2 separate regions of the Homo sapiens genome follow, and region 2 is linked to region 1. The links are contacts of gene promoters, found by promoter capture Hi-C in human tissues and cell types (Jung and others, 2019). All regions are on one chromosome and are shown on one strand. The core of a region is centred on a gene start or on the middle of the fragment in contact, and the rest is flanking DNA. Distances in the headings are between cores, read along the strand shown.

Region 1 (6,606 bases), core at 936-3,435:
CGTAGCTTATATCTTCTCTGCAAGTTTAACACTAAACAGAGAGAAAACCCCGCTTTCCTGCCCTCATAGGTCAGCTCGCAGAATGATCGCCCATCCACACAGCGTTTGGAGGTCAGACGTTCCTGATGACTGTGAAAATGGGGAGGTGAGAAGAGGTCGTCAAAGGGAGCAGCCTTTTAAAGCCAGGTACAGGTTAAAGCCCTGAGGCCAGAGCCTTGCCCAGGCTCCTCTAGCGTGGAGAGCTCCCGCCTTACGGTACAGCTGGCACCTGCTGGTCCCCAGGGCCCTTCGCTGCGACTGCGGCAGACAACCTTGGCAAAGATGCTGGGGACCGCCCGGGCTGGAAAACGTCGGCCTCTGGCGCTTGAGAAAGGCCAGGCGGACTCCTGCAATACCCTCGGTAAACTGTCACCTGTCAATCACTTGACCTAAATACACCAGCCACTGGAGGAAGGGGAGGAGGGGGTTAGTCGGAGCATGCTCAGTGATCAGGATGACATCACTTAATCAATGCTGGGGACGGGAAGGCTGCATCAGCAGCCTGGAGCAGGCTGCCAGGAACGTGTCAGCGGGGACCGGGAGGCTCCCATTAACTCGGTCCCTCCCCACGCGGCTCGCATACAAAGGGGGCACCATCAGCCACACACGCTACGGACAGCGGGCGGGGAAGGGGCGGGGGACCGAGCTGGTTTGTTTCATCTGACAGATTCCTTTAAGAACTACAATCCATTGGTGTTCCCTCCCCCTACCAGCAGCCCCAGCTGCAGAGAGGGAGCTAAGTAGGGGGAGGGGGTGGGGGAGAAAAGGTGGGGAAGGGAGATAGAGAGGGAGGGGGGTCCGAGCCGCACGAAGTAACTTCTGCTCTTGGCACAGGGGGCTACTGCGCTCTGAGCCCCCTCGCCCCACAGATGTGGACACAGCCTCCTCTCCACCCAGCGTGAGGCGCATCAGAGGGTCTGCAGACATGGGAGGGAGGTCATCCCAGAGGGGAGGGATCAAGCCGGGACTCCACATCCAGGGCAGCCAGGCGTGAGAGGAAGCGGGAGACACACCAGGCCTCCAGGGGACACCGAGGCCACCAGTACTCCCCCAACCCTCCGCCTTCCGCGCGCGGAGCCAGGTGTAACACCGCGGGGAGCCGCGTCTACACTGCCGCGGGAGCTCCGAGACGCGACTAGAAATTTTCCTGTACCCCTTTTTCTTTCTTTTTTGCTAGGGTCGTGAGAAGAAGAGGCAAGGCGTTTGGTAAATCGAATTGATTGATGCCCAGAAGCATTTGCGGGTTGCAGAGCTCACACTTTAAAGGGGGCCTGGGCACCCGGCTTGAGGGTCACCCGAACACACTACCCACGCGGCGAGGCGAGCGTGGGGAACAATGGGCCCACCCGGGCCCCCACCCGGCGAACAATGGCGGCGCCGAGCCCGTCTTCGCCCCCCATCCCCACCCCCGCCACCCCCGCCCGGCCCGCCGCTCCCGGCCGCCTCTCCACCCGCCCGGGAGGGAACCATAGTGCGCGGGGCGAGGGGTCTCTGGTCAGGTCCACCCGAGAGGCCAGCCCCGCGGGAATGTCCGAGGGGGCGGCCTAAACACCTCCGCTGCGTCTGGGGCGTCGGGGCGCCCAGCTGCGGCGCGGAGCAGCAGGGAAGGCAGACGCCCCAGCCACTTACCCCGATCACCACGGTCTCATCGCCTTTAAATTTGGGGATGAATTTGTCCCCGCGGAGGATCTCCGCTTCGTTGAGGGGCCGGAACCGGCACATCACTTTGATGCTGCATTCGGCTGGATCCGCCATCTCGGCCGGCGGTAGGGAGGGGGCACGGGGATGGGTGGGGGGCCGGGGCCGGGAACGACGAGGGAGGAGGCCGCGAGCTGCACCGCCCACAGCTAGGCCGCCTCCTGCAGCCTCCGACGACGCTTCTCAGCAGGTCATCGCGAGCCCGGCCGGCTGAGCAGCCCCGGCCGCTCCGAGCCCGGGAAGGTGGGCAGCTTCTCCGCTCCGGCCCCTCCGGCTGCAGACCGGCCTGCCCTGGCCCTGCCCCGCCCCTGCCCAGCGCCCCCCGGCCCACCTGCCCGCGACCACGCGGCGGGCGGAGGAGGCGATGCGCAGGGAGCGAGCCTCGCCCGGCTCAGACCTCCCGGGCTCCTGCGCGCTCAGCCATCCTGCATCAGCACCAGCGCGCTCTGCCGCCTTGAGACCCGCCCCTCCGCCCCGCCCTCCCCTGGCCCGCCCCGGGACGGTGACGTCACCGTAGAGGTCCGCCCGGCCCCCGCCCGACTCCGAGCGCTGCGCATCCCGGGACTTGTAGTCACTCTACCTGCCGGGGGAAGGACAGGATGCGACCTCCAAGAGCCTGCAAGTCCGGTCTGGCTGCCCAAGCCGGAACCGGATGGAGGTCATATCCAATATTTCCGGTTAAAATCTCTAGATAACTGGGTCTGGATCATCCTGATCCCAAAAGAAAATCACTTGGGAAACAGCTCCCAATAGCCCCTGGGTTTCATCCTTCAACTTCTACCACTAGATAAGGATGGATGTCTGTTCAGAGTTTGGGTTTGATTGGCCTTGGTTTAGGTTGGCATCTAGTGCTAAACCAATCAACCAGAATCAGGGATTTTGTAAGATTATGGAGGAATCCCTTGGTGGGAAGGTTCCCAAAAGAAGAGGGATGGTATTCCCAGACATGGTGCCGGGCTGGCAGAACAACTGAGTGTCCACTCTATTTTTCCAGAACTTCCTTTTCCTCTAAGACCTAGCTCAACCCTCCTTCCTCAGACTTTCCCAGCTCACTAAACACCTATAAAGAGTTGGTGGCCCTCCTTGATGTTCCCCTAATCTGCTGTGCCTGTCTCTAGCACTGCACTTGGGTGGTGATATCTGCTTGATATCTTTGTGTCTGTAGCATCTAGCACATAGTGGGCAGCATACTGAATAAGGATTCTACCCTAGGAAGAAGCAATGCATGAGTGTGAATCCCACCTCAGCCACTTATTAGATGTATGACCAACAGGCGGAGGAAATTAAGAGCGGAGGAAATTAAGAAGTCTTAATTTCCTTAAGACTCAGTTTCCTCATCTCTGTCATTGGAATAATATCATCTTGTGATTTCTGGGGGAATTAAAAGACAGATGCTTTTAAAGCACCTAGCACGGTGCCTGACATGTATATAGGATAAGCTCTTGAAAGTTAGATGTTATTGGGTGCTGAACAAATGATCATAAAACAAATAAGTTAGTTAATTTTAGGAACACATCTGTTGCTTAAATTCGGGTAATACCTGAAAATACAAGTGTTCTCTGCCTAGCTGAGAGGACAGACCTACTAAAATCAACTTTTATAAACCCTTGTAAGTAGTACCAGTTCTATTTCATCTCCTCATGTGCAGTGGAAGTAGATTAAAAAGACCCAGGTGCCACCTTCTCATCTGTTTTTAAATTAAGTAATTCTCAGGCTCTGGCTCAGAGACCCATCATCTTAAATGATCAACTTCATAATATACTAGAGAGGACAATCCAATTCTCAGTTTCCCTGAGCCCACCAGAAGATGCCCAGAACCTTGCATACACTGGTTTATCTGAGGAGGTCAGGATTATCTCAAGTGGACAGAGACGTATCTGTGTGTCACTGTGTTCAGTCATCATTCATTCGTTCATCTGTTCATTCATCAGCTATTAACTGAGCAAATGGCATTTGCTGTCACTCTGTAAACTTAGATTTATTAAGTGAACCCTTTTCAAGGGAGATAACGTAGGGCCTCTCATTTGAAGGGAGGTTGCAAAATAAGTCATCGCCCTCAGGCAGCTTAGAAACTAGTGGGAGTACAGAGGATGAAGTTCTCAGTGTTGTCTGAGAAGGCTTAATATAGGAAATGGGCTAAGTAGGATTCAAAACAATTGAAAAGGGACACCAAAAGATAGGTAACAGGCCGGGCGCCGTGGCTCACGCATGTTAATCCCAGCACTTTGGGAGGCTGAGATGGGTGGATCACTTGAGGTCAGGAGTTTGAGACCAGCCTGACCAACCTGGTGAAACCTGGTCTCTACTAAGAATACAAAAATTAGCCAGGCATGGTGGCACGTGCCTGTAATTCCAGCTAATCTGGCGACTGAGGCAGAAGAATCGCTTGAACCCAGGAGGCAGAGATTGCAGTGAGCCAGGATTGTGCCTCTGCACTCCAACCTGGGCGACAGAGTGAGTCTCCATCTCAGGGAAAAAAAAAAAAAAGATAGGTAACAGAAGAAAAAACAGATAAATTTAACTACATCAAAATTAAAACTTTTGCACATCAAAGGATGCTATGAACAGAGTGAGAAGGCAGCTCATGAAATGGGAAAAAATTTGCAAATAATACATCTGATAAGGAGTTAATATACAGAATATATAAAGAATACCTATAACTCACAACCAAAAAAAAATTTTAAAAATGGGCAAAGGATGATGAGCTGGGCTGGATTCCATCTTGGTAGCCAAGGCTAATTCTCCCTCGAGTTCTTGGGAGATGGGCCTTTGGCAAGAAGGCTGGTGTTAGTGAAGCGCACCCGACGCCACGGAAAAAACTACTTTTAAGGAAATATAGCATCTATCGTGAACGTGGAAAAGTAAAGATAATTCACCATGCCTGCTGTGGCTTTAGTTCCTAAAGAACTCTACCTGAGTTCTTCACTAAAAGACCTCAATAAGAAGACAGAAGTTAAACCAGAGAAAATAAGCACTAAGAGGATTACGTCCATTCAATACTTGGAACTGCAAACATCAAAAAAGCCATTGAAGAAGCTGAAAGACTCTCTGAGAGCCTTAAACTAAGATATAAAGAAGCTGAAGTCCGGAAATAACTTGAGGAAAAGGACAGGCAGAAGGAAGCACAGCAACTACAACAAAAAAGGCAGGAAACAGGAAGAGAGGATGGTGGCACATTGGCTAAAGTTTCTTTGGAGAATGTATTGGATTCCAAAGACAAAACCCAAAAGAGCAATGGTGAAAAGAGTGAAAAAATGTGAGACCAAAGAGAAAGGAGCAATTACAACAAAGGAACTATACACAATGATGACGGATAAAAACATCAGCTTGATTATAATGATTGCTCGAAGAATGCAGAATTATCAGGATTCCTGTATTTTACATTCTCTCAGTGTTCCTGAAGAAGCCATCAGTCCAGGGTGGGTTATTGTGTAGTAAAGTGGTAAACTGTGTAGTAAGCAGTAAACTGTGGACCTTAGTAAATGTTACTACTTAGCATTCAAGCTAAATGTGATAAAGTAGTCTTTTCCTGTTAACTTTTTAAATCTTTGCCTCTTTTTTTGGGGGGGGGCAGGGCCAGAGGGGGAGGTGCGTTTTAAGAGCAGAGGTTTAATAGGCAAAAGAAAGAAAAAGGAGAACAGGGCCGGGCTCGGTGTCTCACACCTGTAATCCCAGCACTTTGGGAGGCCGAGGCAGGTGGGTCACAAGGTCAGAAGTTTGAGACCAGCCTGATCAGAATGGTGAAACCCTGTCTGTACTAAAAATGCAAAAATTAGCCGGGCATGGTGGCATGCGCCTGTAATCCCAGCTACTCAGGAGGCTGAGTCAGGAGAATCACTTGAACCCGGGAGGCGGAGGTTGCAGTGAGCCAAGATCGCACCACTGCACTCCAGCCTAGGTGACAGAATGAGACTCTGTCGCAAAAAAAAAAAAAAAGAAAAAGGAGAACAGCTCTCTCATTTTTGAGAGTGAGAGGTGCCCAAATGGCACTTCCCTAAATCTTTGCTTCTTAAAGACACACTTTACGCTTTATGAAGGTTGAAGTTACAGATTTCCTAACTTTTGATTTGGCTGTTTTCTCCTATTTGTGGTATTTAGAATCCTATCAAAAGAGAAATGAAGTTGCCTTTTCCCTCTCTCCCCAGGTGTTTGTTGACTGATTTTTCCTATTATTTTCTGTTTATAAGCATGTGAATGATATGTACCAAATTGACTAAAATTGTGAACTAATTGAATTGTTTTACATGTTGAAATTCCCTATATTATCTGTGATACAAGAGTATCCAAATACTGTGTGTGTGCTTTAAAGAGTACAGTCTCTGATGTCAGACTCTATTCAAATAATTGTCACCTACTAGCTGCATTATTTCTAGCTAGTGACTTAGCATTTCTAAGCTCATGTTTCCATCTGTAAAATGGGGATAATAACAGAACCTATCTTACAGAGGTTTCAGGAGATTTAAATGAGAAACGTTATATATATACACACACACACACACACACACACACACACTTTAGCACAGGTCCTGGCACGAGTAAGGACTTAATTTAAAATTTTTTCTTTCTTTTTTAGTAAAAAGGCCTTTAACCTATGAAATAATTTAAAGTGACTTGCATGGGTATATTGTACAGTAGAAATCATGATAGTGGCAGAGCTAAACCTCCAGATACAGGGCTATTTTCACTATTTCGAGCATTCTTATATAGATCCTATTACCTCTCTGGGTCTTAATTTAATTTTAAAATTAGGTAATGAAATCTGTATAGTTCTTGGCATATTGCAGATGCTTGACAAATGTTTGACCTGAAGCATAGAGTGCTTTGTAAATAAGCTATTTAAAAATTAGAGCTCTTGGGCAGGGTGCAGTG
Region 2 (6,491 bases), core at 1,257-3,756, 510 kb after region 1:
ATCAGCTCCTCAATTCCTTGAATTTTTGAAGGGTTCATCTCCTTCAGTTCTGCTCTGATCTTGTTTATTTCTTGTCTTCTGCTAGCTTTTGAATGTGTTTGCTCTTGCTTCTCTACTCCTTTTAATTGTGATGTTAGGGTGTCGGTTTTAGATCTTTCCTGCTTTCTCCTGTGGGCATTTGGTGCTATAAATGTCCCTCTAAGACTGCTTTGGCTGTGTCTCAGAGATTCTGGTATGTTGTGTCTTTGTTCTCATTGGTTTCAAAGAACTTATTTATTTCTGTGTTAATTTTGTTATTAACCCAGTAGTTATTCAGGAGCAGGTTGTTTAGTTTCCATGTATTTGTGTGGTTTTGAGTGAGTTTTGTAATCCTGAGTTCTAATTTGATTGCACTGTGGTCTGAGAGACTTGTTTGTTAAGATTTCTGTTCTTTTGCATTTGCTGAGGAGTGCTTTACTTTCAATTATGTGGTCAATTTTAGAATAAGTGTGATGTGGTGCTGAGAAGAATGTATATTCTGTTGATTTGGGGTGGAGAGTTCTGTAAATGTCTATTAGGTCTGCTTGGTCCAGAGCTGAGTTCACGTCCTGAATATCCTTGTTAATTTTCTGTCCTGTTGACCTAATATTGACATTTGGGTGTGAAAGTCTCTCACTATTATTGTGTGGCAGTTTAAGTCTCTTTGTGGGTCTCTAAGAACTTGCTTTATGAATCTGGGTGCTCCCCTATTGGGTGCATATATATTTAGGATAGTTAGCTCTTCTTGTTGCATTGATCCCTTTACCATTATGTAAAGCCCTTCTTTGTCTTTTTTGATCTTTATTGGTTTAAACCCTCTTTTACCAGAGACTAGGATTGCAACCCCTGCTTTTTATTGCTTTCCATTTGCTTGGTAAATATTCCTCCATCCCTTTATTCTGAGCCTATGTGTGTCTTTGCGTGTGAGATGGGTCTCCTGAATACAGCACACTAATGGGTCTTGACACTTTGTCCGATTTGCCAGCCTGTGTCTAATTGGGGCATTTAACCCATTTACATTAAAGGTTAATACTGTTATGTGTGAATTTGATCCTGTCATTATGATGCTAGTTAGTTATTTTGCCCGTTAGTTGATGCAGTTTATTCATAATGTCAATGGTCTTTACAATTTGGTATGTTTTTGCAGTGGCTGGTACCAGTTTTCCTTTTCCATATTTAGGGCTTCCTTCAGGAGCTCTTGTAAGGTAGGCCTGGTGGTGACAAAATCTCTCAGCATTTGCTTGTCTGTAAAGGATTTTATTTATCCTTCGCTTATGAAGCTTTGTTTGGCTGGATATGAAATTCTGGGTTGAAAATTCTTTTCTTTAAGAATGTTGAATATTGGCCCCCACTCTTTTCTGGCTTGTAGGGTTTCTACTGAGATATCTGCTGTTAGCCTGATGGGATTCCCTTTGTGGATAACCTGACCTTTCTCTCTTCTGCCCTTAATATTTTTTCCTTCATTTCAACCTTGGCGAATCTGTCGATTATGTGTCTTGGGTTGCTCTTCTTGAGGAGTATCTTTGTGGCGTTCTCTGTATTTCCTGAATTTGAATGTTGGCCCGTCTTGCTAGGTTGGGGAAGTTCTCCTGAATAATATCCTGAAGAGTGTTTTCCAACTTGGTTCCATTCTCCCCGTCACTTTCAGGTACACCAATCAAACACAGGTTTGGTCTTTTCACATAGTCCCATATTTCTTGGAGGGTTTGTTTGTTCCTTTTCATTCTTTTTTCTCTAATCTAGTCTTCACACTTTATTTCATTAAGTTGATCTTCAATCTCTGATATCCTTTTTTCCGCTTGATTGATTCAGCTATTGATACTTGTGTATGCTTCATGAAGTTCTCATGCTGTATTTTTCAGCTCCATCAGGTATAGAGGTCCACTCCAGACCCTGTTTGCCTGGGTATCACCAGCAGAGGCTGCAGAACAGGTCTTTTCTTAACTGGTTATTTTAGTTAGCAATTTGTCTAACCTTTTCTCAAGGTTCTCAGAGGCTGCGTGTGGTGGCTCATGCCTGTAATCCCAGCACTTTGGGAGGCCGAGGTAGGTGGATCACGAGGTCAGGAGATTGAGACCATCCTGGCTAACACAGCGAAACCCCGTCTCTACAAAAAATACAAAAAAATTAGCCGGGCGTGGTGGCGGGCGCCTGTAGTCACAGCTACTCGGGAGGCTGAGGCAGGAGAATGGTGTGAACCCAGGAGGTGGAGCTGGCAGTGAGCCAAGATTGCGCCACTGCACTCCAGCCTGGGTGACAGAGTGAGACTCTGTCTCAAAAAAAAGAAAAGGTTCTTAGCTTCCTTTCATTGGGTTAGAATATGCTCCTTTAGCTCGGAGGAGTGTGTTATTACCCACTTTCTGAAGCCTACTTCTGTCAATTCGTTAAACTCATTCTCTGTCCAGTTTTGTTCCTTTGCTGGCAAGGAGTTGTGATCACTTGGAGGAGAAGAGGCATTCTGGGTTTTGGAATTTTCAGCCGTTTTGCACTGTTTTTTCCTCATCTTCATTGATTTATCTACCTTTGGTCTTTGTGTTGGTGACCTTCAGATGGGGTCTCTGAATGGATTTCCTTTTTGTTGATGTTGATGCTATTCCTTTCTGTTTGCTAGTTATCCTTGTAACAGTCAGGCCCCTTTGCTGCAGGTCTGCTGGAGTTTGCTGGAGGTCCACTCCAGACCCTGTTTGCCTGGGTATCACCAGCAAAGGCTGAAGAACAGCAAAGACTGCTGCCTATTCCTTCCTCTGGAATCTTTGTCCCAGAGTAGCACCCACTAGATGCCAGCTGGAGTTCTCCTGTGTGAGGTGTCTGTCGACCCCTGCTGGGAAGTGTCTCCCAGTCAGGAGGCACGGGGGTCAGGGACCCACTTGAAGAGGTAGTCTGTCAGTTAGCGGAGCTCGAGCATTGTGCCGGGAGATGCACTGCTCTCTTCAGAGCCAGTAGGAAGGAACCTTTAAGTTGGCTGAAGCTGTGCACACAGCTGTTCCTTTCCCCTGGTGCTCTGTCCCAGGGAGATGGGAGTTTTATGTATATGTCCCTGACTGGGGATGCTGCCTTTCTTTTAGAGATGCCCTGCCAACAGAGGAGGGATCTAGAGAGGCAGTCTGGCTACAGTGGCTTTGCTGAGCTGCAGTGATCTCCGCCCAGTTCGAACTTCCTGATGGCCTTGTTTACACTGTGAGGGGAAAATCGCCTACTGAAGCCTCAGTAATGGTGGATGCCCCTCCCCCCACCAAGCTCCACCATCTCAGGTTCACTTCAGGCTGCTGTGCTGACCTGAGAATTTCAAGCCAGTGGATCTTAGCTTGCTGCGCTCTGTGGGGCTGGGATCCGCTGAGCTAGACCACTTGGCTCCCTGGCTTCAGCCCCCTTTCCAGGAGAGTGAATGGTTCTGTCTTGCTGGCATTCCAGGGGCCACTGGGGTATGAAAAAAACTCCGGCAGCTAGCTCGGTGTTTGCCCAAATGGCCACCCAGTTTTGTGCTTGAAACCCAGGGCCCTGGTGGTGTAGGCACCCGAGGGAATCTCCTGATCTGCAGTTGCAAAGACCATGGGAAAAGCGTAGTATCTGGGCCCGAGTGCACTGTTCCGCATGGCACAGTCTCTCCTGTCTTCCCTTGGCTAGGGGAGGGAGTTCCCCAACCCCTTGTGCTTCCCCAGTCGGGAGGGCTGCACTCACTGTCTAACTAGTTCCAATGAGATGAGCTGGGTACCTCAGTTAGAAATACAGAAATTACCCGCCTTCTGCGTTGATCTCGCTGGGAGCTGCAGACCGGAGCTGTTCCTATTTGGCCATCTTGGCAGCCACCACCATTTTGATGCTCTTATTAACATCTAGTGATTGTTGTCCAAACTATGGGATTGGCAACGTGTCTTTAAAAATAACTATTGTTAAGTTCCTATTTCTCTGACTATATAGATAATGTGAGCCCTTCTTGTTTCATAGCCTAGATCCTGGGCAATGTTGCAAAAGGCTACATTAGTTAATATTGGACAAATTGTTAAGCCAGTCATTCAACATATACCCTACCTTTTAAAAATGGCTCTGCAACAGATTTCTGTTTGGAAATACTAATAAAACAGGGGAGTCAGTGTCCCAACTGATGTTCAGAAGAATATGTACTGAAAAGAAATCTGTAAATCCAACACGTTTTTTTTTTTGTTTTGTTTGTGTTTTTGAGACAGAGTCTCACTCTGTCACCCAGGCTGCAATGCAGTTGTGCAATCTTGGCTCACTGCAACTTTCACCTCCTGGGTTCAAGAGATTCTCCTCCCTCAGCCTCCCCAGTAGCTAGGATTACAGGCATGTGCCACCTCACCTGGCTAATTTTTGTATTTTTAGTAGAGATTGGGTTTCACAATGTTGGCCAGGCTGGCTGGTTTTGAACCCCTGACCTTGTGATCCGGCTGCCTCGGCCTCCCAACGTGTTGGCATTATAGGCATGAGCCACCACGCCTGGCCCCAACCCAGCACTTTTTTTCTTATTTTTCTTCTCAATAAAAACATGGAAGGAGAGGAGGGGAGCGGAGGGAAGATTTTTATAGTTAGCAGATTATGATAATTCTAAATACAAGGTAAATAATGGTGGGAAAACTCATAATAAAACTTACCTAGTCTGAGCTAAAATTTTAAAATGAACATTGATTATATGTGCATTTTAACTGAAATATAAAAACATTATTTTTTATTTGTTTTTGAATATTTTTCAACAATTTTAATGCCAGCTTAGAAAAATGATCATATAGACTGTCACAAAAATACCAGCAATATTAAACAGTGTGCACCCTGTAATTCCAGCATGTGGTACCAGAATGTTTCTAAGGTTTCACAGTAAATATCAGCAATGCAGCACACTCTACCTAGATTTTCAATATCTAGGTCACATGGACTACTTTGAATACTGTGAATAGGGGAAAAAAAGCAGGAAGATTTCTGTATAGCCACCAGAAAATCATAACATGCAAAATACATTTTAAAAAATCCTAGGATATCATGGTTTTAAAAATAATTCCTACATAAAATAGAAGACAGTATCCCAAAAAGGAACTTCTCATCTATTATGTAAACCAAATAAAACCTTTGCAGAGTATTATTTACTTAATAAAATGTCTTTTGTTTTTCCTATTCTCTGAGATGTGTGTGTGTATGTGCACACTGAATGGTCAGAAGCAGGTAAAAAGAACATATACTAAAAATAAATGTGTTGTTAATCCAAAAAATATATGCACTTTAGGGAAAAATCCAGCAGTAGTTAGAGGTAATCAGAAACTACAGCTTCCACTTATAATAAAGGCAAACAGATATGATAATAATGATATTTGAAATTATAATCCTTTTTATTTATATAAAAGAGACATGGAGGGTTTATAATACATTTTGATTATGAAAAATGCACACTGCATTTGCAATTTCTTTCAGCCATAATAATATACAGTTACAGATATTTGAAACCTGAAATGATCTTTGCTATAATTTTATTATTTTCCTTGAAATCTAGTGAATTTATTCAGTTATGGATTTAAAATTTCTTCTTGCCCTTTTTCCAAGTTTTTATGTGAAGGACAGGAAGTAAATATGTGTCTCAGCAAAATGAGAGTCCCTAATAATCTATAATAAAACTGCTACCACATATAACTTTTATATATGTATACTTCTTTTAAAGGGAGACAGAAATGAAAACAACTTTTTCAGTGAATTTTTCTTAATCTATTTGAAAAGCAATACATAAAGAGCAGTCACATATGCCAGCACAACAATTAAAATGGGTAACATTGAAAAACCACATTTAAATGACTAGGATTCATAGAGATCATGCTTTGATAAAGAGTTTATTCCTATTATCAAAAAGATCTATAGAACTGGCTATAAACAATGTATTTTTTTAATGGCACTAAAGCTTACAAGGATCTTTCAATCGAGTACACAAAGGAGCTGCTTAAGACTGCAAAGCCTTTCTTAAGACTTAAGAAGGCAAGAAAAATGCTTTTTACATATCACACTCCATTATTTGGCAATAGTGCCCTTTTAAAGGACCAAAATTTTCATATAGTAGGAGGATTTTGATATTAGAGAATTTACTATAGTTATGGAGATATTCTAGAAGCGGTTTAAAAATGGGTATATAGCACAAAGAAAGAGCAAAAATGAACATGATATGTTTTATCTCATTTTATTCATCATTACCACCCTATGAAATAGCATTTTGATCCTTATTGCTGTTAACTGAAAATAAAACACTACAATTTTTTTTTTTTTTTTTTGAGACAGAGCCTTACTCTGTCATCAAGGCTGAAGTGCAGTGGTGTGATAATGCCTCACTGCAACCTCCTCCTCCCAAGTTCAAGTGATTCTCATGCCTCTGCCTCCCAAATAGCTGGGACTACAGGCGTGCAGGGTGCCACCAAGCCTGGCTAATTTTTGTATTTTTAGTAGAGATGGGGTTTCACCATGTCGCCCAGGCTGGTCTTGAACTC

What was found. Contacts are between HindIII fragments. The study calls those that stand out against the background at their distance.
Region 2: a contact is called between a fragment that was not itself captured here and the fragment with the promoter of KIF5C in region 1, in 1 of the 25 tissues and cell types used here (H1 embryonic stem cells).

The regions. Positions count from the first base shown.
Region 1 is chr2:148,870,806-148,877,411 of GRCh38, reverse strand. It overlaps KIF5C (kinesin family member 5C), which reads right to left and starts at 2,185. Exons shown (of 26, transcript NM_004522.3): 1 at 1,669-2,185. The coding sequence starts at 1,794. KIF5C-AS1 (KIF5C antisense RNA 1) reads left to right here. Exons shown (of 4, transcript XR_001739733.2): 3 at 70-400; 4 at 1,217-4,415. It also overlaps the pseudogene USP8P2. RefSeq lists enhancers at 361-940, 941-1,519 and a silencer at 1,892-2,361. The HindIII fragment of the contact is 19,635 bases long and covers 1-6,606 here.
Region 2 is chr2:148,359,054-148,365,544 of GRCh38, reverse strand. All of the region lies in intron 4 of MBD5 (methyl-CpG binding domain protein 5), which reads right to left. Among named protein-coding and RNA genes, the nearest start is that of EPC2, 280 kb to the left of the region's middle. RefSeq lists an enhancer at 2,954-3,492. The HindIII fragment of the contact is 8,189 bases long and covers 1-6,491 here.